Regions from separate parts of the Homo sapiens genome. Here regions 1, 2, 3, 4, 5 and 6 are each linked to region 7. The links are contacts of gene promoters, found by promoter capture Hi-C in blood cells and fetal thymus (Javierre and others, 2016). All regions are on one chromosome and are shown on one strand. The core of a region is centred on a gene start or on the middle of the fragment in contact, and the rest is flanking DNA. Distances in the headings are between cores, read along the strand shown. Region 1 overlaps SLC24A3 (solute carrier family 24 member 3). Region 2 overlaps SLC24A3 (solute carrier family 24 member 3). Region 3 overlaps SLC24A3 (solute carrier family 24 member 3). Region 4 overlaps SLC24A3 (solute carrier family 24 member 3). Region 5 overlaps SLC24A3 (solute carrier family 24 member 3). Region 6 overlaps SLC24A3 (solute carrier family 24 member 3). Region 7 holds the start of SLC24A3 (solute carrier family 24 member 3).

Region 1 (3,039 bases), core at 99-2,598, 350 kb after region 7:
ATTATACAACTGAAGACAAATTAATCCGCACAACTGAAGACAAAAAGCCATCCCCTCTACCTGAAGGATCTTTTTTTCTTCTGCTATTGCTAGCCTAAATATGCATATAACATATATCTCATAGGTGCTCACATTGTCCCCGCCAGCTGAGATTTTAAAATTCAACAGTGTGTGGTAGCTACCCAAGTTAAATAAAATGTGTTCACTGTCTAAATATTAAATATTAAAACTTCAAATACACCCACAAGAAGTTGCCTGCTTGAGAAACATACAAAAGAAACTTGAAAGAAAATAACAATGAAAGGAAAATGGGAGATATTTTGCAGAATTGTTTGCAGAATATTGACTATGCTTGTGCCAGGGGAAATGAATTAGTAAGAGGCTTATTTCTATACACACTTTTTTATTAATAGAAGATTAGTTTTCTCCTCCCTCCTCCACAGAATAAATGTTGAATAAATATTTAAAGAATATAGGCTTGAAGAGGCGCCAGATTACGAGCCTGCTGGCGTCCTGTGTCTCAGGCCTATTCTGTTTTTGGAAGTCCTGGTTGCTTGCCCTTGATTGGCCAGCAGTTCCACTGTTTGATGTTATCTGGTAGCAGCAATGTCCATCAGCTCCTGAGTCTGAGTTTGCAGAGAGAACAAGAAAGTGACAGAAAGGCAAGAATGCAAAAATCTTGATAATTTTAACCAGTCTTGTATCTTTTAAAAGCACAATGTTGGGCAATAAACATTGCTGTAACTGGCACGAAAATTCCTACCTTATTGTGATAACCCTCGGAAAGGCTCAGGTTACTAATAAGAACCTTTAGGCAAGAAGTAGGTTTCTTACCAACCTTGAAGTGAAGAGCTCTATCATCTTGTAGACAGTTGAATGAGTTTTGAAATTTCAAAGGCCTCTAGAAAATTTAAATGATCTAATATTTACAGTAGATACCTAGACAGAAGTCATTGTCCTCACTTCTCAAGTAAGCCTGAAGAGGAAGATCCCAGTATTGGCAAACAGGACCTCTAGCCAGCCAGTGTTTACCTGGGATCAGAAGAACTCCCACAGGGTATGGCACTGGGGTTTAGAGGAGTAGTAGGGAGGGAATATCATTGAAAAGTGGGAGAGGGTAAAAGGGAAGAAAGAATCTGATGAACCAGTAGAGGTCACGGGCATTCTGAGCTTCCTCTCATGTTGCTGAAAGCAATCAGGGTTAGATTCATGGGTTCTGGCTTGGATTGGAGTCACACAAACAGGATTGAAGTCCCATCATCAATGCCACCATCATCACTATCATCATCACCAACATCTTTGTCATCGTGATCACCATCTCCTCCTCATCACCATTACCGTGATCAACTTCATCATCCTTGTCTCCACCATCATCATATCACAATCACTATCGTCACCATCATCATCACCACTACTGTCAAAACCTCATTCATTATCACCATCAGATAAGGTTCATCTAGTGGAGTCAGCAGTGATTCCTGTTCAAGACAGATAACCTGAACTTATACATCCAAGTAGCATGGTCCTTCCTAGAATGAACTTTACCTGTTCCTCCAGTCTCATCTGTTTGTGCTCCCTCATACACAATCTACATACTAGCAACAGTGAATAATTTGTAGTTTTCAAGATAAACCACATTAATTTTTGACACCATGCTTTTACTCATTCTGTTCCCTTGCCACTTCCTTCCTAATGGCTAATGCCTGTTCATCTTCTCAGATGTTATGTAGGTATCAATTCTTCCAGATAATCCTACCATATTATCTTCTCACTCTCAGCTCACTGCAACCTTTGCCTCCTGGGTTCAAGCAATTCTCCTGCCTTAGCCTCCCAAGTAGCTGGTATTACAGGCATGCGCCACCCTGCTGGCTAATTTTTGTGTTCAGTAGAGATGGGGTTTCACCATGTTGGCCAGGCTAGTCTTGAACTCCTGACCTCAGGTGATCCACCCACCTTAGTCTTCCAAAGTGCTGGGATTACATCGTGTGCCAACACACCCGGCTTCCATCCTCTCATTCTCTAAGACCTAGGTTAGGTGTCCCTCCTCTGTGGGTTTGTGGAATCCAGTAAGTCTAGGTTTAGCTTTAATTTCAAAGGCTCCGCTTACATATGTAGAAGATATATTGGGGCTCCATTAGATCCACATGAATTCTCTTTCCTTGTTTGTGTGTCTATCCAGCAGCTCTGTGTGCTTTGCTACGAATGTTTCACCCCTACAACCTTCAATGAACTACCTTAGGCTACTAGAGCCACTTCACCAGGAGGCACTGAGAGTGAGAACGACCTGGGAATTTGTGTTCTCGGGGGGTGGGGGGTCAAATAACCAATGATTGATTGGTATAGTAGTAGGAAAGTCCAGCTGCTTTGCCTCAAGTTCTGTGGTGCAATCCACATTCTGTGCAGGTGAGGCTAAGGCTGAGGTGTCACCTGGCATCACACCCCTCATTGGCTGCTGCTTCTTCCTTGTCTTGCCTTTGCCACTACCTTATTGGTCCCCCATTGCATATGGACTCTTATCTGAGGGTCTACTTCTGAGCAACCCAACCAAGACCTCGGAGCCTTTTTCCTTGTATTGATTCCTATCACCTGAGAGCCAATTTCCCTCTCACACTAAATGGCACCTTTAAATGAATGAATGAATGGGATGGTGACCAGACAGGTAGGGAATTCTGCATCTTCAGTGCCTGGAGTCTACTGAGAGTGGAGGCTGTATGATTCAGATCAGGGGCTTTGAAGTCATGTGGCACTAAATTTGGATGAATGCTGACTCTGTAAATCGGGCATCTTTCTTATTTCCTCCAAACATAAGTTTACTCATCTGTGAATCAGAGATTCAGCAGGCCCAACTTCTGTATGTTGGTTATTGGGAAAGTGAAATGAGCTAATGCATATCAAGCACTGAGCCCAGGGCTTGGCCCACTGAAAGCTCATTCATTCATTCATTCGTTTATTCATTCAAATTCCAGAAGGAGTACCAGGTACTGCTCTGGAACTAAGGATACAAAAGTAAACTAAACTGTCCCAAGATCATTCAAGCAA
Region 2 (2,938 bases), core at 267-2,766, 400 kb after region 7:
ATTATTCTCTAGAAGTGTAATGAACAATGCTGAGCATGGAGAGATGCCCACCTCTTCCCCATCACATGAAAAACCTTTTCACCCAGATGAAGGCTTCCTTGGTTTGCGTAGCTGTTGATGCTCACCCTTGACTCATGGGAATGTTTGAACAGCTCCAGTCTCCATGTATTTTTCCCATGCACCACCCTGTTCTATATTAAGATGTGAAATTCTTTGCGTTCAACCCGCTTACACCACCCTTGTTTGTCCTGGCGCAGACTGTTGACATCCTTTTAAATCTTGATTCTCTTATGCGGGGGCTGGCTCTGCCTCCCAGTTGTGTATATCCACAGATCTGATGAGCAGTTTCAACAGTGTGATGAGGGTGGGACAGTTTGCATCTGGAATCTTTAAGAGATTGCAATTGAGAGTGTGATTAAGAGCTTGAGATTTACAGCCAGACTGTTGGGACTAAAATCTATCTTTACCATTTGCTATCTGTATGAAGTTGAGCAAATTAATTAAATTCTCTGTGCCTCAGTTTCCTCAACTGTAAAATGGATTAATAATAATAGCTTTACCTCATGGAGTAATTGCATTAACTAAATGAGTTAATACACTCAGAGTACTTAGAATGGCACCAGCTATATAGAAAGTACTCAGTAAAAATGACCTGTTATTATGCTCTTGGACATGCAATATCTTTCTCCTAGAATGTGCTTCATGCAGGGCTGGGCCCCAGCCCATCCTCTCCTGGAAGCTGTCCCTTAGTGCCACAGGCCCATTGATTCTCCTTCCTCCAGATATTAGTTTTTACCACAGAACCTGGCAAAGATCGCTTTGGATCCCATTCCACCGTTCTTGCCCACTTAGCACATGTTATTCTGGGCCACAAAGATGGACTGTGGGCACTGGAAGAGCAAGTGCCATTGCACAGCAGGTTCTTATTAACCAAAGACGCAGCCCAAATTGTAGCGTTGGGAGAGTGCACTCGGTGACACTGAGGCCTCTGTTGTTGCCATGTGGATTCAAGTTAAAATGCCACTGACTCTACAGCTGCTGTGACTTTGCCTCTTTTCCTAAGTGGATCCTTGACCTGGATCACTCTGCTAAGAACACTAAGACTGGTAATCAATAATGAGGCTGGATTAGAAGGAAGATGAATGATCCACTGGGTTAGCGTTTAACAACCCAAATTGAAATTTGCTGGTGGGACGTGTGTGTGTGGGTATGTGTGCACTGTGATTAGTGAATCTCTTCTGTTTGCTCATCATCCAAACCATAATCTTTTTGTTAAAGCCGTAATCTTTTAAGCTTTAATTTTACAGACTATGTGGTCTTTAGCTTCATCCTTAAACAGATCTGTAAGGGTAAAGCATCTTAACCACCAAGTGGTTTGATTCCTTCTCCCATTGGTTTTGTTGTTATTTGGTTCAGATTTTCTTATGTTTTTGGTGGGGGAAGAGGAGAGTCATTTAAAAATATATATATCATGGAGGGATCAAATCAGAGTCCGGAAGTTGTAAATGAATTAATTAAATGCTGTCACCAGTTGGGTTCTCTGGAAGCAGACACGAAGACAGAGTTTTGAGTGCAAGATATTTTTTAATCAATACCTATGTTAGTCCATTCTCAAATTGCTATAACTAAATAGCTGAGACTGGGTAATTTATAAAGAAAATAGTTTTAATTGGCTCGCATTCTGCAGACTGTACAGGAAACATAATGCTGGCATCTGTTCTGTTTCTGGAGAGGCCTCAGGAAGCTTACAATGGTGACGGAAGGTGAAGGGAAAGCAGGCATATCACACGGCCAGAGCAGGAGCAAGAGAGAGCAAGGCAGGAGGTGCTACACACTTTCAAACAACCAGATCTCTAAAAAATTCACTCACTATCACGAGAACAGCACCAAACGGATGATGCTAAACCATTCATGAGAAATCCACTCCCATGTTCCAATCAGCTACCAGCACCAGAACAAAACAGGCAGAACAAGAGGGGATAGCTTTGCTTGCTGAGTCTTCTGGCTCTTTTATTCTTCCCACACTGGACCCTTGCTTCTGTTCCTCCTGCCCTTGGACATCAGACTCCAGGTTCTTTGGCCTTTGGACTCTGAGACTTGCACCAGTGGCTTCCTGGGGACTCTCAGACCTTTGCCCACAGACTGAAGGCTACACTGTTGGCTTCCCTGCTTTTGAGGCTTTTGGACTCAGACTGAGCCACTACTGGCTTCTCTCTTCCCCAGCTTGCAGACAGCCTATGGTGGGACTTCACCTTGTAATTATCTGAGCCAATTCTCCCTAATAAACTCCTTCTATAGGTACATAGATCCTATTGGTGCTGTCCCTCTGAGACCCCTAACTAATACAATGCCTGTGAAAGGAAAGGAGAGGAAGATGAAGTCAAGCCATGATGCAGGCTCACCAGAGTCCCAGCCAAGCTGACAAAGAGTTCTGGAACAAATATGGTTCATCCTGGAACCAAACTGCCAGGAATGTATACCACTGCCTCTGTGTCAGTGGATGTGGGCCTTCCAGGAAGGGTGTGATGTGGGCGAGGTAGCTCTCTGCAGCTGAGGCTGACCCAGCCCAGTGGAGCCAACAGCTTGAAGCCACCTGATGGCCACATCCCTCTGCAGCTGGACAGCAGATCCTTCCTTGCAGGGAGTTTGTGTGTCACCTCTCCATGCCTGCCACGTGTGCTTTACAGCCCTCTAGACAGAGTCATTCAGGACCTCTGAACACTCACAAACACTTAGGCAGGGGACAACATGTTAGGGGAGGTGGGGTGAGTGCTTGACAATTTTTTAACAAATGCTGTGACCTCCCAGTTCTCAGGCCAACTGTCCATCTGAGACGGCTAACCTAGATCTGCCCACCAATGCTGGGGCCACCCAAACAGTAGGCACTTGGACTATGAATGAAAAGTTTCCATGGTCAAAATCACCCCCAAGAAAATGG
Region 3 (3,076 bases), core at 535-3,034, 420 kb after region 7:
TGTATACACCACCACTGAGCTCAGCACAAGGGAAAAAGAACAACTCTGCTGCAGAATAGGTGTCCCTGACAACAGCTCTGGCATGCTGAAAGGCTCTAGGCACCCCGTCCTAGAAAGTCTATTAAACAATGCCAGGCCTGGTCCTCCAACTCTTAGGGCTGTTTGAATTCAAGAACTGGACCATGTAGACTTTGCCTCCTATGCAGAAATTTGCCTTCACAGCGAGTTGTAAGCTCCTACAAGATACGGACAACTTTCCATTTTATTTTTACTACTTGAGAAAAATAGTTTTTTTAATAAAATGCATGTAAGCATGGACTTTTGAGTCATTCAGCTGGCTCCATTGCTGGGCATGTGCAGATTTATCAGTTTACCATGATCTTTGGCTTTCCACATCTGTAAAATGGAGACAACTTTATGTAGCATATTCTTAGTCAGCCAGGGCTGACATAATAAAATACCACAAACTGGGTGGTTTAAATAATGAAAATTTATTTTTTCACATTTCTAAAAGCTAGAAGTTCAAGCTCAATGTATTGGCAGAGTTTACTTCTTCCGAAGCCTTCCTCCTTGCATTGTAGATGGCTGTCTTCTCCCTGTGTCTTCACATGATCTTCACCTTGTACATATCTGTGTCCAAATTCATTCTTATAAGAATGCCAGTCGTGGCCGGGCGCGGTGGCTCACGCCTGTAATCCCAGCACTTTGGGAGGCCGAGGCGGGCGGATCACGAGGTCAGGAGATCGAGACCATCCCGGCTAAACCGGTGAAACCCCGTCTCTACTAAAAATACAAAAAATTAGCCGGGCGTAGTGGCGGGCGCCTGTAGTCCCAGCTACTTGGGAGGCTGAGGCAGGAGAATGGCGTGAACCCGGGAGGCGGAGCTTGCAGTGAGCCGAGATCCCGCCACTGCACTCCAGCCTGGGCGACAGAGCGAGACTCCGTCTCAAAAAAAAAAAAAAAAAAAAAAGAATGCCAGTAGTATTGGATTAGGGTCCACCTAATGACCTCACTTTAAGTTAGTTCCCTCTTTAAAGACTCTATCTCCAAATACAGTCACATTCTGAGGTACTGAGGTTTAGGACCACAACTTATGAATTGGGCTGGGGGAAAGGCACAATTCCCCCCATAACAAGCACCCTTCTTAAGGAGTTGTGTGAGAATTACATTAATTAAAGCATGCAGAGGAAAGTCCCTAGAATGATGCCTGGCAATCATAAATATTCAATAAAATGCTGCTGCTGTTACTGTTTGTAAAGGAAGTTGTCCAACACTCCCTCCCACCTCTTTCTATATCTGCCATAAAATAGTTCACATGTTTATAAGAAAAAAAATTCTTGTGCCTTCCATTTCTTTTCAAGTTCCCTACTCAGCATTTATTTTTATAGGCATGGCCATTCCTAAATACTGAGACATCGCCAGTCAAAGGGGAAGCATTTTCAGCTTGTGCTCCATGGTAGTGGTGTTTATGTGCTATTTAAAGGGAAGCTGCCTATCTCTTTGAAATGCTTATTATCAAAGCATGCCTGAGTCAACTTTTCCAGTGCAGTAATGCTGGCTTTGATTTTCACAGACCACTTTTGATATGATTAGCTCGTTCTCTCCCACTCCTGGGAGCCAGCATCTTCTCATTTACAGATGCTAGTTGCCCAGCGGCCACCAGAAATTCTGCTGGGGAGACTCTAGTTCATTTAAGGAGGAAACAAAGGGCTTTAAAATATATAGATCCAAAGCACTCCTACAGTGTTCATCAAAAGGCTTGTCCCAAAATGTTCATATCAGTTTTAATAATAATAATACCTCAAAACCAGTAACATTCCAAATATCTATCAATAGGGAAATCAATGAACAAATCTAATAGTGCTCAACAATAAAAAAGAGAAAATTATTGATACACATAACTTAAATGAAGCTCAAAAATATGCTGAGTGAAAGAAGCAAGCACAAAAGTATACAGTATGATTCCACTTATATGAAGTTCTAGAACAGTGAAAACTAATCTACAGTGAGAGAAATCCAATCTGTGGTTAGCTGGGTGGGGATAGATGAGGTGATTGACTGGAAGCCGGGGGGGACACTTTTCTGTGTGGTAGAAATGCTCTATGTCTTGACTGAGGTGATGGTTGCAGGGGTATACAACATCTTATATGAATAAATTTCACTGCTTATAAATGATACCGCAAAAATTTTATTTAAAAACCAATCAACAAATAAAACACCATCCAACCAAGATAGAAGAAATTTAATTATCTTCACAGTGCGTATGTTTAGGAAAAAGATATTTGACTACATTTTTCATATTTGTGCATGCTATGTCATAGACACAGCCTATTTCTAACTCACTGATGGCTGTAAAATGTACCCAACTTGAGTAGAGGATCTATCTCTTTCTGTGAAGAATCTCACTGCTGGTTCTCAGAACAGACACTTACCTCCCCTGACTACAAGCTCGTTGAAATAACAGCCTGATACACAAAGGGGAGGGATGAGTCCATCATTGCCCAGATACCAATAATGCATAGCGAGAGTAGTCTAGAGTTTTTAATGAATTTCTAGAGAACAGAAATAAGATGTGGTTGTATTGATCCAGAGTATGGAAATCCTTAAACTAAAACACACACAGGAAAAAGCTGAAGTGGGGATGAGGGACATGAATCCTAGAGGGTCTCTCTGAGCTTAAAGCACAGAATCAGAAAATTTGGTGTGTGAGTAGGTTGATGAAGAAGGAGTAATCAGGGTAATTAATTAAACAAATCTTTGTGCATCAGGTATCTATTGCTGTGTAACTAGCAACCCCAAACTTAGTTATGTAAAACAACCACCACATAATTCTTCTCAGTGATTCTGTGGGCCAAGAATTTGGACAAATCACAGCAGGGATGGCTTGTGTCTGTTCCACTGGAAATACTGGAATAGCTGGAGGTGACGTGAATGACTGGGGCTGGAATCATCTGGAAGATTCTTCACTCACATGTTTGGCACCTGGATTGGGGTGACTCGAAGACTGGGCTCATCTAGGACTATCACCTGGAGCACCTTTGTATGTTCACTCTATGTGGCTTGGGCCTCCTTACAT
Region 4 (3,064 bases), core at 11-2,510, 440 kb after region 7:
CCTTTAGTATTATCTTGTTACGGTATAACAAGAACGGTAATGGTATGTACTCAATCTGTCGTCGTTAACTAAAAGTCCAAGTAATGTGTTAAAGAAATTCAAAATTGATATTTGCCACGTTTTAAGCCCATTTGTCTGATTATAATAAAGTGAATAAATACAACCTTTTATGACCTGCTGGAAAATGAACAATTTAGTCCAATTTAATCTATTGCATAAATGGTGAGTGATGACCACAGATTCTAAGAGTTTACAGTACTGAGAGAGAATGAAAAAAGGGTAAAGAATACTTTATATTTATTCTAACATGATTTTTCTGATGTGAATTCTCTTCTTGACAACCCTGTCATGTGTGACTTAGAAATGCAAATGCTTCACCTAATAAGGCAAAATTAGCAACAGGAAATAACTAAGTGTTCATATAGGAAGTGGGGAATGCGTTAATGGAAAGAGACTGGCCTTGTTATTCATTTATGGTCCTATTTAAGTCATGCCTTTCATGTTATTTGCATCCAGAAAACCTCTAGTTTGACTTGGTCTGATCTTTATAGACTTGCACAGCAGTCGGGGAGGGTAGAGGCTCAGGGATTGCATGTCCCTGGGGTCCCTTTTTCCCACTGTGTTTGGTGTAGCATGTGCCTGTCATTGCCACGGCTGAGAGTGTTGACTTGTGCTGTGTCTTTTTTCACTTACTACGCCAAGGGCAAAGGTAGCCAGGCAAACATCCTGTGGCCATGGGGTAGTCGATACTCCTCTAGGGAAGGGAAAGGGACTTGCCAGTGACAACCCTTGGAACAAGGTGTGTGGACTCTCCCAGACTTATTTGTAAGGTCTGCCAAAGTGGACCTACACTGTAAACAGATAAAAATACTAAATATCCCTTAATAAGAGACTTAGAAGAACTTTCCTGGGAGAAATGATTCTTTCTCCAGAACAGAAGCCTCAACCTGACACCCACAGCTCTTTCCCCTCTCCTCAAACTCTCCCGACCACCTCCAGCCCTGGCTCCTCTGCCCTTCTTTGCACCTAGCAGCCCCCTCCTCTTGCAGGGAAAGGCTGCTTTAGCCTCCAGCAATGTGCCTATCAGCTTCGTGTCAGCAGAGCCAGCATCTCTTTAAAAAGGGCTATCTCCAAATGCCAAGAACATTTTCCCCTGGATCAGTATGCAAATCAATCTTTCAAAGATTCTGATTAAACCGAGGTCAAATGCCAGCAAGGCCAGGCATATAATAGAGATGAGGGAAGAAGGTCTGGCAGAGACAGGCTTGTCCACACCCCTTCTGAAGGGCGGCAGCAGCCCAGCACATGTTGCTCACTCCACGGGGCAAGACAGGCTGTAGCAGACGCTAGACTCATGGCAAAGGCACAGGTTAGGATTGCTCCTCCTATCCCCTTGATATTAGGGATGTCAAGGCAGGCCCGTTCCTGGGGGGATGTGAGACTCCTCTGATAGGCAACTTTGCATTGAGGGTTCCCTGGGCCTCACTGCACCTTCCTCAGACTGCGTGCCAGCTAGGACAGTGCACCCAACCATCCCTGTCTCCACGGGGGTCAGACCCGCATCACAGTTGGACAGGCTGCATGCCCAGCTCCCCCGATGCCCCATTTTCTATCACCAGTTGTTTCCCGCTAACAAAATTGTTGCAGGTTTAATTGTATCTTCATGTCTGCCTCTCAGAAGATCCAGACTAATATGCCTAAATACTTGAATAAATTCCGATTGATTGGCAGATTGGGTGCAGGACAGGAGGCCTAGACAGGAAGCTGGCTAAACCTGCAAGAGTCCCGCCATCTCATTTGTACAGTCTATATCCTGTTTGACTTTGTTTCCCTTGTCCTGCAGGTTGTGGCTCTTTCCTCCTGGTGCCTGCTGAGGGATTCTATTTACTACACGCTGTCTGTGATCGCGCTCATCGTGGTGAGTCACTCTGGCCATTTCAGCTCCCATCAGTGCTCTTTTAAGCACCAGGGGTGGTGTGAGGCTCCTCCACATGGAGTTCACTCGAGGTCACCGGTGGCGAGTGCGAGATGCATGTCTTTGCTTGGAGGCAGATTTATTTCTTTCAGCTACTTTGATCACCCAGAACTCCAGCCTGACCAATTGCTGGTCAGAGCCGGCATTTAGACTTGGGTTATCTGGGTCTATGAGAGTCCATGGCTGTTCTCCTGAGACCCTCGTGAGCATGGCTCTTCTGTCGCTTCATTGGCGTCCCTAGCTTTGGACATCACTTCTCCCCCTTCTCACTCTGTATGCTCTGCCAGGACTCCCTGCCCTCCCACAGAGCCCATTACCGTGGCCACCTTTGTGCCAACACCCACACATGTCACTTAGCAGTGACACCTCCCTGAGGTCCAGTGGTGGATAAAGAACTCTCTACTAGACATCTCCATGCCCCAACTCAACATGTCCCTAAATAGAATCCTTTTTTTTTTTTTTTTTTTTTTTTGAGATAGAGTCTCACTCTGTTGCCCAGGCAGGAGTGCAGTGGAGTGATCTTGGCTCACTGCAAGCTCCGCCTCCCGGGTCCCAATGATTCTCCTGCCTCAGCCTGCCAAGTATCTGGGACTACAGGCGTGCACCACCACGGCTGGCTAATTTTTGTATTTTAGTAGAGATGGGGTTTCACCATGTTGGCCAGGTTGGTCTCAAACTCCTGACCTCAAGTGATCTGCCCGTCTCAGCCTCCCAAACTGCTGGGTTTACAGGCATGAGCCACAGCACCCAGTCCCTAAATAGACTTTTGATGTTTTCCCCAGGACTTGCCTTTCTATATATTTCAGTCCTCGTTCCTATCGTAGCCACAGACTGGGAATGAGATTAAACTGACCTTTCCCTCAACTCCCAGCATACCCATTTGGCTTAATTGTACCGTGAATTTCAGGTTACCACAATCTGTCCACTGCATTCCTCCAGAGCCCACTTCAGCTGAGGCTCTCTGCATTGCCGGCCTGACGCAGCAGCTGCTGCAGTTCATTGCGGGTCAGTGTTTCCATGCAGTGCATCTCCACCACTTACTCCCCGCTTCTCTCCACCCCAGCCAGTCCTCACGGCCATCCAAGTGGT
Region 5 (3,090 bases), core at 5-2,504, 470 kb after region 7:
GACCCTGAGGCCTTCCGCAGTGTTTGCCTCCCTGGGTACTTGAGATTAGGGAGTGGTGATGACTCTTAACGAGCATGCTGCCTTCAAGCATCTGTTTAACAAAGCACATCTTGCACCGCCCTTAATCCATTTAACCCTGAGTGGACACAGCACATGTTTCAGAGAGCACAGGGTTGGGGGGTAAGGTCACAGATCAACAGGATCCCAAGGCAGAAGAATTTTTCTTAGTACAGAACAAAATGAAAAGTCTCCCATGTCTACTTCTTTCTACACAGACACGGCAACCATTCGATTTCTCAATCTTTTCCCCACCTTTCCCCCCTTTCTATTCCACAAAACCGCCATTGTCATCCTGGCCCGTTCTCAATGAGCTGTTGGGCACACCTCCCAGACGGGGTGGTGGCCGGGCAGAGGGGCTCCTCACTTCCCAGTAGGGGCGGCCGGGCAGAGGCACCCCTCACCTCCCAGACGGGGCGGCTGGCCGGGCGGGGGGCTGACCCCCCCCACCTCCCTCCCGGACGGGGCGGCTGGCCGGGCAGAGGGGCTCCTCACTTCCCAGTAGGGACGGCCAGGCAGAGGCGCCCCTCACCTCCCGGACGGGGCGGCTGGCCGGGCGGGGGGCTGACCCCCCACCTCCCTCCCGGACGGGGCGGCTGGCCGGGCGGGGGGCTGACCCCCCAACCTCCCTCCCGGACGGGGCGGCTGGCCGGGCAGAGGGGCTCCTCACTTCCCAGTAGGGGCGGCTGGGCAGAGGCGCCCCTCACCTCCCGGACGGGGCGGCTGGCCCCGGGCGGGGGGCTGACCCTCCACCTCCCTCCCGGACACGGCGGCTGCCGGGCGGAGACGCTCCTCACTTCCCAGACGGGGTGGCTGCCGGGCGGAGGGGCTCCTCATTTCTCAGACGGGGCGGCTGCCGGGCGGAGGGGCTCCTCACTTCTCAGACGGGGCGGTTGCCGGGCGGAGGGTCTCCTCCCTTCTCAGATGGGGCGGCTGGGCAGAGACGCTCCTCACCTCCCAGACGGGGTCGCGGCCGGGCAGAGGCTCTCCTCACATCCGAAACGGAGCGGCGGGGCAAAGGCGCTCCCCACATCTCAGACGATGGGAGGCCGGGCAGAGACGCTCCTCACTTCCTAGATGGGATGGCGGCCGGGCAGAGACGCTCCTCACTTTCCAGACTGGGCAGCCAGGCAGAGGGGCTCCTCACATCCCAGACGATGGGCGGCCAGGCAGAGACGCTCCTCACTTCCTAGACAGGGTGGCGGCCGGGCAGAGGCTGCACTCTGGGCACTTTGGGAGGCCAAGGCAGGCGGCTGGGAGGTGGAGGTTGTAGCAAGCCGAGATCACGCCACTGCACTCCAGCCTGGGCACCATTGAGCACTGAGTGAACCAGACACCGTCTGCAATCCCAGCACCTCCGGAGGCCGAGGCTGGCGGATCACTCGCGGTTAGGAGCTGGAGACCAGCCCGGCCAACACAGCGAAACCCCGTCTCCACCAAAAAAATACGAAAACCAGTCAGGCGTGGCGGCACGCACCTGCAATCGCAGGCACTCCGCAGGCTGAGGCAGGAGAATCAGGCAGGGAGGTTGCAGTGAGCCGAGATGGCAGCAGTACAGTCCAGCTTCGGCTCGGCATCAGAGGGAGACCGTGGAAAGAGACGGAGAGGGAGACCGTGGGGAGAGGGAGACCGTGGGGAGGGGGAGAGGGAGAGGGAGAGGGAGAGGGAGACGGAGACGGAGACCGTGGGGAGAGGGAGAGGGAGAGGGAGACTCACTCTTTTAGGATTCTAAAAGGACTATTTTCTTTAACATAACCACATTATCGTCATACGTAAAATTAATACTAATTCCTTAATATCATAAAATACCTAATGTTCAAATTTTCAGTGGCCTCACAAATGTCTTTTTCATTGTTTTCTTTTAGTTTCATAAATATCATAAATATTTTAAAAATGAGAATTCAAATAAATTCCACTCATTAGAATTGGTGGCCCATGACTTGCTGCTGTGTCTGTATGTGTGTGCATGTGTGTGTGTGCATTTTCCTTGCACTTTGTTCTTTAATGAAGTTTGGCTGTTTGCTCTGCAGAGTTGCCCACGGTTGGAAAGCGTTGATTATATCCCATGATGTGGCACAGTCTGTTCCCTTGGCCTCTGTGTCTGTGTGTTGTCTGTGTGTGTATGTGTGTGCATGACTGGGCATCTGTGTGTGTCTGTGTGCTGTGTGTCTGTGTGTGTGTCTGTATGTGTCTGTGTGTGCGAGTGTGTGTCTGTGTCTGTGTGTGTGTCTGTGTGTGTCTCTGTGTGTGTCTGTGTGTGTCTGTGTGTCTCTGTGTGTCTGTATGTGCATGTGTGTGTGTGTGCATTTTCCTTGCACTTTGTTCTTTGATGAAGTTTGGCTGTTTGCTCTGCAGAGTTGCCCATGGTTGGAAACTGTTGATTATATCCCATGCTGTGGTGCAATCTGTTCCCTTGGCCTATGTGTTTCCTATATGTCTGTAATTGATCTGATTCAGGCTAGACTATGTCCCAAGTGGTGGTAAAGTTCCATCACCAGGAGGCACGGTGAGGTCTGCCTTTCTCTGTCTGTAGTGTTGGCAGCCGTCAGCATTCAGGTTCCATCACCAGGAGGCATGGTGATGTCTGCCTTTCTCTGTCTGTAGTGTTGGCAGCCATCAGTGCTCAGTGTCTGCATCCATTATTTCGTTTGGGTTGCAAAATAGTGGTGTTCTAATTCTACGCTTCGTGTCTTATGAACTACAAATGACACCCGTCACTTTGACTAGTTTTCTGTTCTCTCTCATGCAATGTAGTAACTGCACGTTCCTAGAGAGTACAGGAAAGAACTCATGGATGAGACGGTCCAGCCACAGAGGACCTCTTCGTCTCTCTGAGGTCTTGTTGCCATAGGCCAGCCACCTCAGAGCTGTACCCACTGAAGAATCAGGCACAAAGGAGATAGCTGGGAGGGAATCCAGAGAGCTTCATGTCTGTAGCAGCAAAGAGATGAGGAAAGGGAAGAGAAACATAGGTTGAGTGGCCTTCCAGCTGGCAACTTACGGTCACCATGCCTAACTGCCATGCCTATGGGA
Region 6 (3,252 bases), core at 309-2,808, 320 kb after region 7:
GGATCTAAGAACAACGTTCCTTGATTCCTGTATGCAGCCAGGGGACCATGGATAGAGACAAGGACTATGGCTCTGCCCTCAGGGCCCAATCAGCCAGCCTCAAGTCAAGCACAAAGCAGGGCTGGATACTTGCGGAAGGCCCCGCAGCCCTCCATGTCCAGACCCCTGAGTGCTTGGGTCTGCCCTCACTGCTCCCTCATCCACAAGGGGCATTGCATCCCCAGGACTGTCTCAGCCTCTGGTGCCCAAGTCCACTGTGGTTCATGGAGTCACCACCACAGTGGGGCCCCATCTTGGAAATGAGCCCGGCTGTCTCTCCTGGAGGAGAATTCCTGGGGTAGCTATGGCAGAGCCTCCCATCAAGCCATTCACCTGAGTTCATCTTCTGGAAAAGGGCAGACAACAGAGGATCAAAACCAAGCATCCGTTTTGCTACCTTTGGCAAGCACTCCTGAGTGTCTGCAGAATGGGGAGCTCAGTGGTAGGTGACACGTTCAGAGCTGAAAGACTCTGCCCATGGAGCACTTGCACCAGACACTGTGCTCGGTGTTCCACACACCGTCTTATTCCACCCTGGCAACCCTCAGAGCTAGGTACCATAGAGACCTGAAAGTCACAGAAGTAGGGTAACTTGCCACAGCTGAAAGATAGGATATTAATTGGTATAAAGAGGTCAGCACAGGCTATTGAGAGAGCACATTGGCAGCCCCCTGATTGGGATGTCATTCAAGATATTTAATAACTGGAGGCAACAGAGACGCTGATCAAGCAGACAGATATCAGCTGTCAACATCCAGTTCAGCCAAACCAACACATATTAGCTGAATTTCAGAACTGCCTGATTCTTCTTGGGCACAGCATGAGCTACCTTTCTGGATATCTACTGCTGCATTACAAAACACCCAGTATTTAATGGATTAAAACAATTTGTTATCAGTCCTGGGTCTATCGGTTGACTGCACTCAGCTGGGTGGCTCCTGCTTCAGGTCTCTCATGCACTTGCAGTCAGACAACAGCTGGAGCTAAAGTCATGTGAATGCTCTATGGGGCTGAACATCCATGATGGCCCCATTCACACAGCTAGTGTCTCTATGCTTCTCCAGGTGGCTTCTCTCTCTAACAGAGGAGGCTGAATGGTTTACGCAGAAGCTTGAATCTCCAAGAGGCAGAAAGCAGGGGCTGCTGGGTATTTCGTGGCTACCCCTGAAACTGGCCCACCATCACTCCCGCATGCCCAGATGTAAGAGGAGTTGCAAGGTCACACTGCAGAAGAGCAGGTGGGATGCAGTGATAATTCCATGGCCGTCTTTGAAAACCATCTGCCACAGCAACCTTAGAAGAAGAGGCAATACCTATGTGGAGCCAGGTGAAGGGGTCAAGGAAGGGTATCCCAGGCAGCGAGACACTATGCAGAGGCAGAGGGGAGAGAGAACACCAAGCACCTGTGCTTATAAATATAGGGCACTCACTGTGGCTGGCATGGTTGGGTCAAGATGGGAGATGGCAAGAGCTTGGGCAGGAGAGAGACTTAGATCTTTGAGGGTCTCCAGTGCCTAAGGAGTTTAGATTTTATCCCAGCAGCATTGAAAGCCATTAAGGGGATTTGATCAAGCAAGGAGTTGACCCAACCATATCTATATCTTGGAAAGATTTTGCTGGCTGTAAGATGGAGTAGATGAAGACAGGTAGACCAGCTGCCTTCCCCCAGCTGTCCCACATCTCAAAAGAAGAGCTACCGGGATAAAGCCTTGTTGTAGCTTTGGCCTTAGCCCTGTCCTGGTTCTTCATTCTCATCTGAGCAACAAGGCTGCATAAAAGAACAGAAGCCCTGGGGCAGTGGTGTTTGCAGGGTTCAGTTGACTCTATCTGTTATGCTCATTTGTCTGAGATTCCGGAAGCCTTTGAATAGCACTTGTGATAATTACAGAATCCCCACATATATTGATGAAAAACAGCTACATAAATAGCAAAGCTTGGTATTTGTGAAGTGCCAGTTTTCTGTAAATATAGAATGTTGGCAGTTACTGCCGTGTGGTTTGTCTACTCTCTGGAGCCAGCACTGGTTTTATTACAGCCCTTTCCAGGGAGGGTTTTATATCCTGCCTACCTGTGGCCAGTCCACTGGCCTCACAGGTACAACTGCAAAAAGCAACAGGCAATCTGAGACCAAGAGAGGCAATCCTCAATCTCTTTTAAGTGTGGAGAGTCCTGTTTGACATCCAAAAAGGCTTTTCTGTTGTTGTTTTTTTGTTTTGTTTTGTTTTGTGACGGAGTCTCGCTCTGTCACCCAGGCTGGAGTGCAGTGGCACGATCTTGGCTCACTGCAACCTCTATCTCCCAGATTCACGTGATCTTCCTGCCTCAGCCTCCTGAGTAGCTGGGATTACAGGCATGTATCACCACGCCTGGCTAATTTGTTCGTATTTTTAGTAGAGACAAGGTTTCCCCATGTTGGTCAGGCTGGTCTCAAGCTCCTGACCTCGTGATCCACCTGCCTCCCAAAGTACTGGAATTACAGGCCTGAGCCACCATGCCTGGCCCCAAAAAGTATTTTTAGCTATTCCTACATCTATGTGTAGAGACCCCTGACTGCTTTAGTAAGTTGAGGCTCCTTAGCAAGTGTATAAGGTACAGATTGGAAACCAAGGCTTATTTGTAGATCTAGACCAGCATTTTCCAAACTGTTTTCTCAGGACACTAGTGAAAGAATGATAGGTATTGTATAGGTATTGTATAGAAAATGAGGATCTCTTAATCAAGTGTTTAAGAAATGCTAACTTACTATGTATTTTCTAAATGCAGGGTTTCTCACAAACTTTAAATATGCTAATTTGGGCCATGATTCTGCACAAAGGAAGTGTAATAGCTGGGTTTTCAAAATTGACCACAGAACTCTTTTTAACAGAGTATTTTACAGGAGTTTGGAAAGAATTCTACTTTGAGTAATGATGACTAACCATCCTCAAGGCTCATTAATTGATCTCAGCTCAGCTCTCAAAGGAGTGATATTGTATCAGTTAGCTTTTGCTGTGTAACAAATGATGCTACATTTTGGTAGCTTAAACCAATGGCTATTTTTTTAACTCATGATTCCCTTGGTCAGTAATTTGGGCTGGACTCAACTGCGTGGTTCTTCTTGTCTTGGCTGCCTTTCTCATGTTTCTGTAGTCAGCTGTCAGCAGTTAGACCAGCTTGGTTTTGGACAGTTAGTTGGCTGTCAGCTTGGGCAATGAGAGTAACTGAGTCACATGC
Region 7 (3,270 bases), core at 483-2,982:
CAGCCAAAGCAAAGGGAAAACCACTCAGGCATTGTGGGGGAGGTACTCTGAGTGTCTGGAAGATGCCAGGCTGAGAACAGCAGTCATAAATGATATACCCACAAAGGAAAAGTCTCTGGTCTCCCTGGGTGAGATGGCCTTTCTCTGGAAAGGAGGCCACCTATAACCACTTCCTTTGCCCTTTGCTGTGACCTTGCTGTCCCCGGGCGCTGTCAGGGATTGTCTGGGAGGAGGTCGGGGGGGGTAGGTCAGTCACAGGTGGGGACACATTTGAACAGACCTAGACAGGGGAGCCTTATACAGAGGTTCTCTGCTTCCTTCCCACCTCCTTAGGGTATGAAGCTAGATTCCCTGATCTGAATGGATTCCATGGAGACAGTCACCTAGACAGACACCTGGTTTCAGGTGATCCCTTTCTGGACAAGGTCTTTTGTTTTCAGCGCCCCCCCACCCTCCGCCCCAACAATGGCATCTCCTCCTCAGCCCAGCCAGCAGCCCCAGGCTAGCATCTGGGAAGAGTCCAGGGAAGCCCAATGAGGGAGAGTGGGCTGTGTCTGGGATGGCCAGGGATCCCCTCCAAATGGGCACCTGCGGCAGGTCGTGAGTCCAGCCATCTCTAGGGCAGCCCACACCTTCAGCAAGGAGGGGCAGGAGACCTAGAATGGGGGAAATGGGAGGACTAAGATTCTAACGTTGGAGGTAGGGCAGGCTGGTGTTACCTGCACAAGGCCAGAAGCCTCTTCAGGCCGCCTCTCCAGGGACCGTGCCAGCTGTCCCCACTTCGATCAGCCACAGTATTGGACTTGGTCCAGCACGAACAGAAAGCGAAGTGTGAGCCCAAGACAGAGGGGGGAGCCGGACACCCTTATGGAACTAACAGCCTCTGGGGAGGCCTGTTCCAGATCCCGAGTCGGGCGCACAGGGGGATCCCCGCAAGGGGGCAGAGGGAAACCCGGGAGGCCCGCGAGAAGAGGCGAGGCCAGAGGCTGGGCGCGGGCAGCCAAGCGCACTCGCGGCGCCCCGACTCCAGGTAGCACGTAGAGAGGAGGCTGAAGAGCCCCTCGGTTTTCCGAAAGTTTCCAGCGAATCCTTCTTGGTGAAGATCGGCCTCTGGGAGGCAGCGTGTGTGCTTCCCGAGAGGGGGCCCCCTGCGCCGTCCCTCTTCCCCTGGCACAGAAGGGTTGAAGGACTGCACACAGGGATCCCTCCCCAGCCCAGTCTCCTCCCAGCGCGCCCCCTCCCCGCCATGCCGGCCAGCGCCGGGCTGTGTCCCAGGCACTGCCCCCCGCCAACCCTGGCCCGACCAGCCTCGCCGCTGCAGGCTGCCGGGAGCTGCGCTAGCTCATGCTCCCAGCTCGCTCGGTGCTCCCTGTTCGCTCCGGCCCGGCCCCGGCCCCCATCGCGCCGACCATGGAATAGGCGGGCGGCCCCGCGAGGCGCTCCTGCAGCCGGCGAGGCCAGAGCCAGTCCGGGGTGGCTTTGCCAACCGGCGGAGTTGGCCAGCGGCGGGCCCTCCTACCGTCGGTCCTTCCCCGCTCCTCCTCCTCTGCCCCCTCCGCCCCCGCCTCCCGGCCGCCCCCGCCGCCCCCGCCGCGCCGCCGCCCCAGGCCGAGCGCGGGCGCGGAGCGTGGGAGCCATGGCGCGCGAGGAGGAGCGGGACCCCGAGCGCCGGGAGGCGGCGGCGCGGGCGAGCGGCGAGGAGGAGGAGGAGGGAGGGGAGGAGGGACTGGGCGATAGCGACGAGGAGGGCGACGACGAGGAGACGGGCAGCGGCGAGGAGGAGGAAGAGGAGGCGGAGGCGGCGGCCGGGTGGGAGCGCAGCGAGGACGCGCGGCTGCTGCGCGCAGGGCTGCCTCCTGCCGCTGTCCCCGCCGCGGCCGCCCGCGACAGGAGCGGCCGCCGCCCGCCGAGGCCGCCGCCCGGCCGCCCGAGGATGCGGCCGTCCGGCGACGAGGACCGCGCGCGTCGCCGCCGCCGCCGCCGCCGCCGGAGGGACCTTCTGCTGAGCCAGCTCTGCTTCCTGGCCTCGGTGGCGCTGCTGCTCTGGTCGCTGTCGAGCCTGCGAGAGCAGAAGGGTGAGTGCACGCTGCCTGCCCCGAGTGGGCGCTGCGGCTCCGGCGGCTCGGGGCTCCCGGGGCTGGGCGCGGGGCTCCTTCGGGCGGCCCGGCCGGAGCCCCAGGATAAGCGGGCTGGGTTGGCGGGGGGAGTGGGATGCCAGGCACGAGGACTCCCCCTGCCCCACGCAGAGGCATGGAGGTGGGGACCCTGAGCGCCAGCAGCCAGCAGGCTTAGGCGTCTGGCCGCCCTGGGAACATTTACCTGTGCCCGCCTGTGCGCTGCTTACTCGCGAGCTGGAGGTACTGCTGGTGGCGGTGGTGGGGAGTCTTACTCTCCATCAGCCCCCAAGGCCAGGGATAAAGTTGTGGTGGTAGACCCGGCACCTGTGCAGGTGACCACCTGTATACTCCTTGGCTTGCTGAAGGATTCAAGGGGACTGCTTAACACACAGTTGTCCGTATGTTCTCCATCCAGAGAGCAGGCGGGATGGCCCGAGTAGAGAGCTCTTCAACCCCCTTTCAGAACAGGTGCCGGGAACTTCAGGGAGAGAAAAAGTGTTGGCCCTCCAGCTATGGGCTAGTAGGGGACTTGTTCTCCTAAAATGACCACTCACTGGGAAGACAGGGAATTCTTCCTCAGAGGTCCCTTTTGCAGAGCTGCTGCTGTGGAAGAAATGGTTTGCAGTGGACCACGCATCACACTGTCCGCTCCTCTACCGGTGCTCTGCGCAAAGTCTGCCCTTTAACCCACAACTTTTGTCTTGTCTTTGTCCTTGGCCTTTCTTGAGCTGAAATAGATCTTGTGTGCTCCCAACAGTTGTCTGCTGAAACAGCTTCGATCCTGGGATTCAGCTGTCTATAAAATGAAGGAAAAACATGGGAGAATAACTGTTGTAAAATGGTTTTATATCCCGGCCGTGGAAGTGGCACGATTAGTGGGAAAACAGCCATGTAAAGGGTTGTGAGAAAGAAACAAAACAAAACAAAACAAACAAACAAAAAAACAGTTACAAGTATGTGCTGTGGTGTTGAGGTCGACGTAGCTCTAATGCAAGATGTCATGAGGTGCAGAATAAAGACATTTTGATAGTCACCGTAAAATATTTTCAAAGGTGCCATGAATTTAAAAAGGGATCTCCCCCAGCTTGGCTGGTCTCCTGCTTGGTGGGGAAGTGAAACAGGCGTCAGTCTTCATTCAGTCTTAGCAGACCGC

What was found. Contacts are between HindIII fragments. The CHiCAGO score rates a contact against its expected background, and 5 or more counts as called.
Region 1: a fragment that was not itself captured here is called in contact with the fragment with the promoter of SLC24A3 in region 7 in 6 of 17 cell types (M2 macrophages, M0 macrophages, megakaryocytes and 3 more); the score reaches 17.5 in M2 macrophages.
Region 2: a fragment that was not itself captured here is called in contact with the fragment with the promoter of SLC24A3 in region 7 in 5 of 17 cell types (M1 macrophages, M2 macrophages, M0 macrophages and 2 more); the score reaches 11.7 in M1 macrophages.
Region 3: a contact is called between a fragment that was not itself captured here and the fragment with the promoter of SLC24A3 in region 7, in 3 of 17 cell types (M0 macrophages, megakaryocytes and M1 macrophages). The highest score is 7.8, in M0 macrophages.
Region 4: a contact is called between a fragment that was not itself captured here and the fragment with the promoter of SLC24A3 in region 7, in 12 of 17 cell types (megakaryocytes, M0 macrophages, fetal thymus and 9 more). The highest score is 10.9, in megakaryocytes.
Region 5: a contact is called between a fragment that was not itself captured here and the fragment with the promoter of SLC24A3 in region 7, in 7 of 17 cell types (M2 macrophages, M0 macrophages, M1 macrophages and 4 more). The highest score is 7.8, in M2 macrophages.
Region 6: a fragment that was not itself captured here is called in contact with the fragment with the promoter of SLC24A3 in region 7 in 4 of 17 cell types (M0 macrophages, M2 macrophages, M1 macrophages and 1 more); the score reaches 7.6 in M0 macrophages.

The regions. Positions count from the first base shown.
Region 1 is chr20:19,563,102-19,566,140 of GRCh38, forward strand. The region is part of intron 3 of SLC24A3 (solute carrier family 24 member 3); the gene reads left to right. Among named protein-coding and RNA genes, the nearest start is that of RIN2, 190 kb to the right of the region's middle. The HindIII fragment of the contact is 3,670 bases long and covers 1-3,039 here.
Region 2 is chr20:19,613,716-19,616,653 of GRCh38, forward strand. All of the region lies in intron 6 of SLC24A3 (solute carrier family 24 member 3), which reads left to right. Among named protein-coding and RNA genes, the nearest start is that of RIN2, 140 kb to the right of the region's middle. The HindIII fragment of the contact is 451 bases long and covers 1,292-1,742 here.
Region 3 is chr20:19,632,701-19,635,776 of GRCh38, forward strand. The region is part of intron 6 of SLC24A3 (solute carrier family 24 member 3); the gene reads left to right. Among named protein-coding and RNA genes, the nearest start is that of RIN2, 120 kb to the right of the region's middle. The HindIII fragment of the contact is 4,252 bases long and covers 1-3,076 here.
Region 4 is chr20:19,652,219-19,655,282 of GRCh38, forward strand. SLC24A3 (solute carrier family 24 member 3) reads left to right here. Exons shown (of 17, transcript NM_020689.4): 7 at 1,844-1,918. Among named protein-coding and RNA genes, the nearest start is that of RIN2, 100 kb to the right of the region's middle. The HindIII fragment of the contact is 6,105 bases long and covers 1-3,064 here.
Region 5 is chr20:19,677,844-19,680,933 of GRCh38, forward strand. The region is part of intron 9 of SLC24A3 (solute carrier family 24 member 3); the gene reads left to right. Among named protein-coding and RNA genes, the nearest start is that of RIN2, 79 kb to the right of the region's middle. RefSeq lists enhancers at 1-743, 744-1,720. The HindIII fragment of the contact is 4,096 bases long and covers 1-3,090 here.
Region 6 is chr20:19,532,165-19,535,416 of GRCh38, forward strand. The region is part of intron 3 of SLC24A3 (solute carrier family 24 member 3); the gene reads left to right. Among named protein-coding and RNA genes, the nearest start is that of RIN2, 220 kb to the right of the region's middle. The HindIII fragment of the contact is 823 bases long and covers 1,148-1,970 here.
Region 7 is chr20:19,210,910-19,214,179 of GRCh38, forward strand. SLC24A3 (solute carrier family 24 member 3) reads left to right here and starts at 1,733. Exons shown (of 17, transcript NM_020689.4): 1 at 1,733-2,075. The coding sequence starts at 1,934. It overlaps LOC101929547 (a long non-coding RNA gene), which reads right to left and starts at 1,559. Exons shown (of 3, transcript XR_007067549.1): 1 at 720-1,559. RefSeq lists a silencer at 2,084-2,133. The HindIII fragment of the contact is 7,870 bases long and covers 1-3,270 here.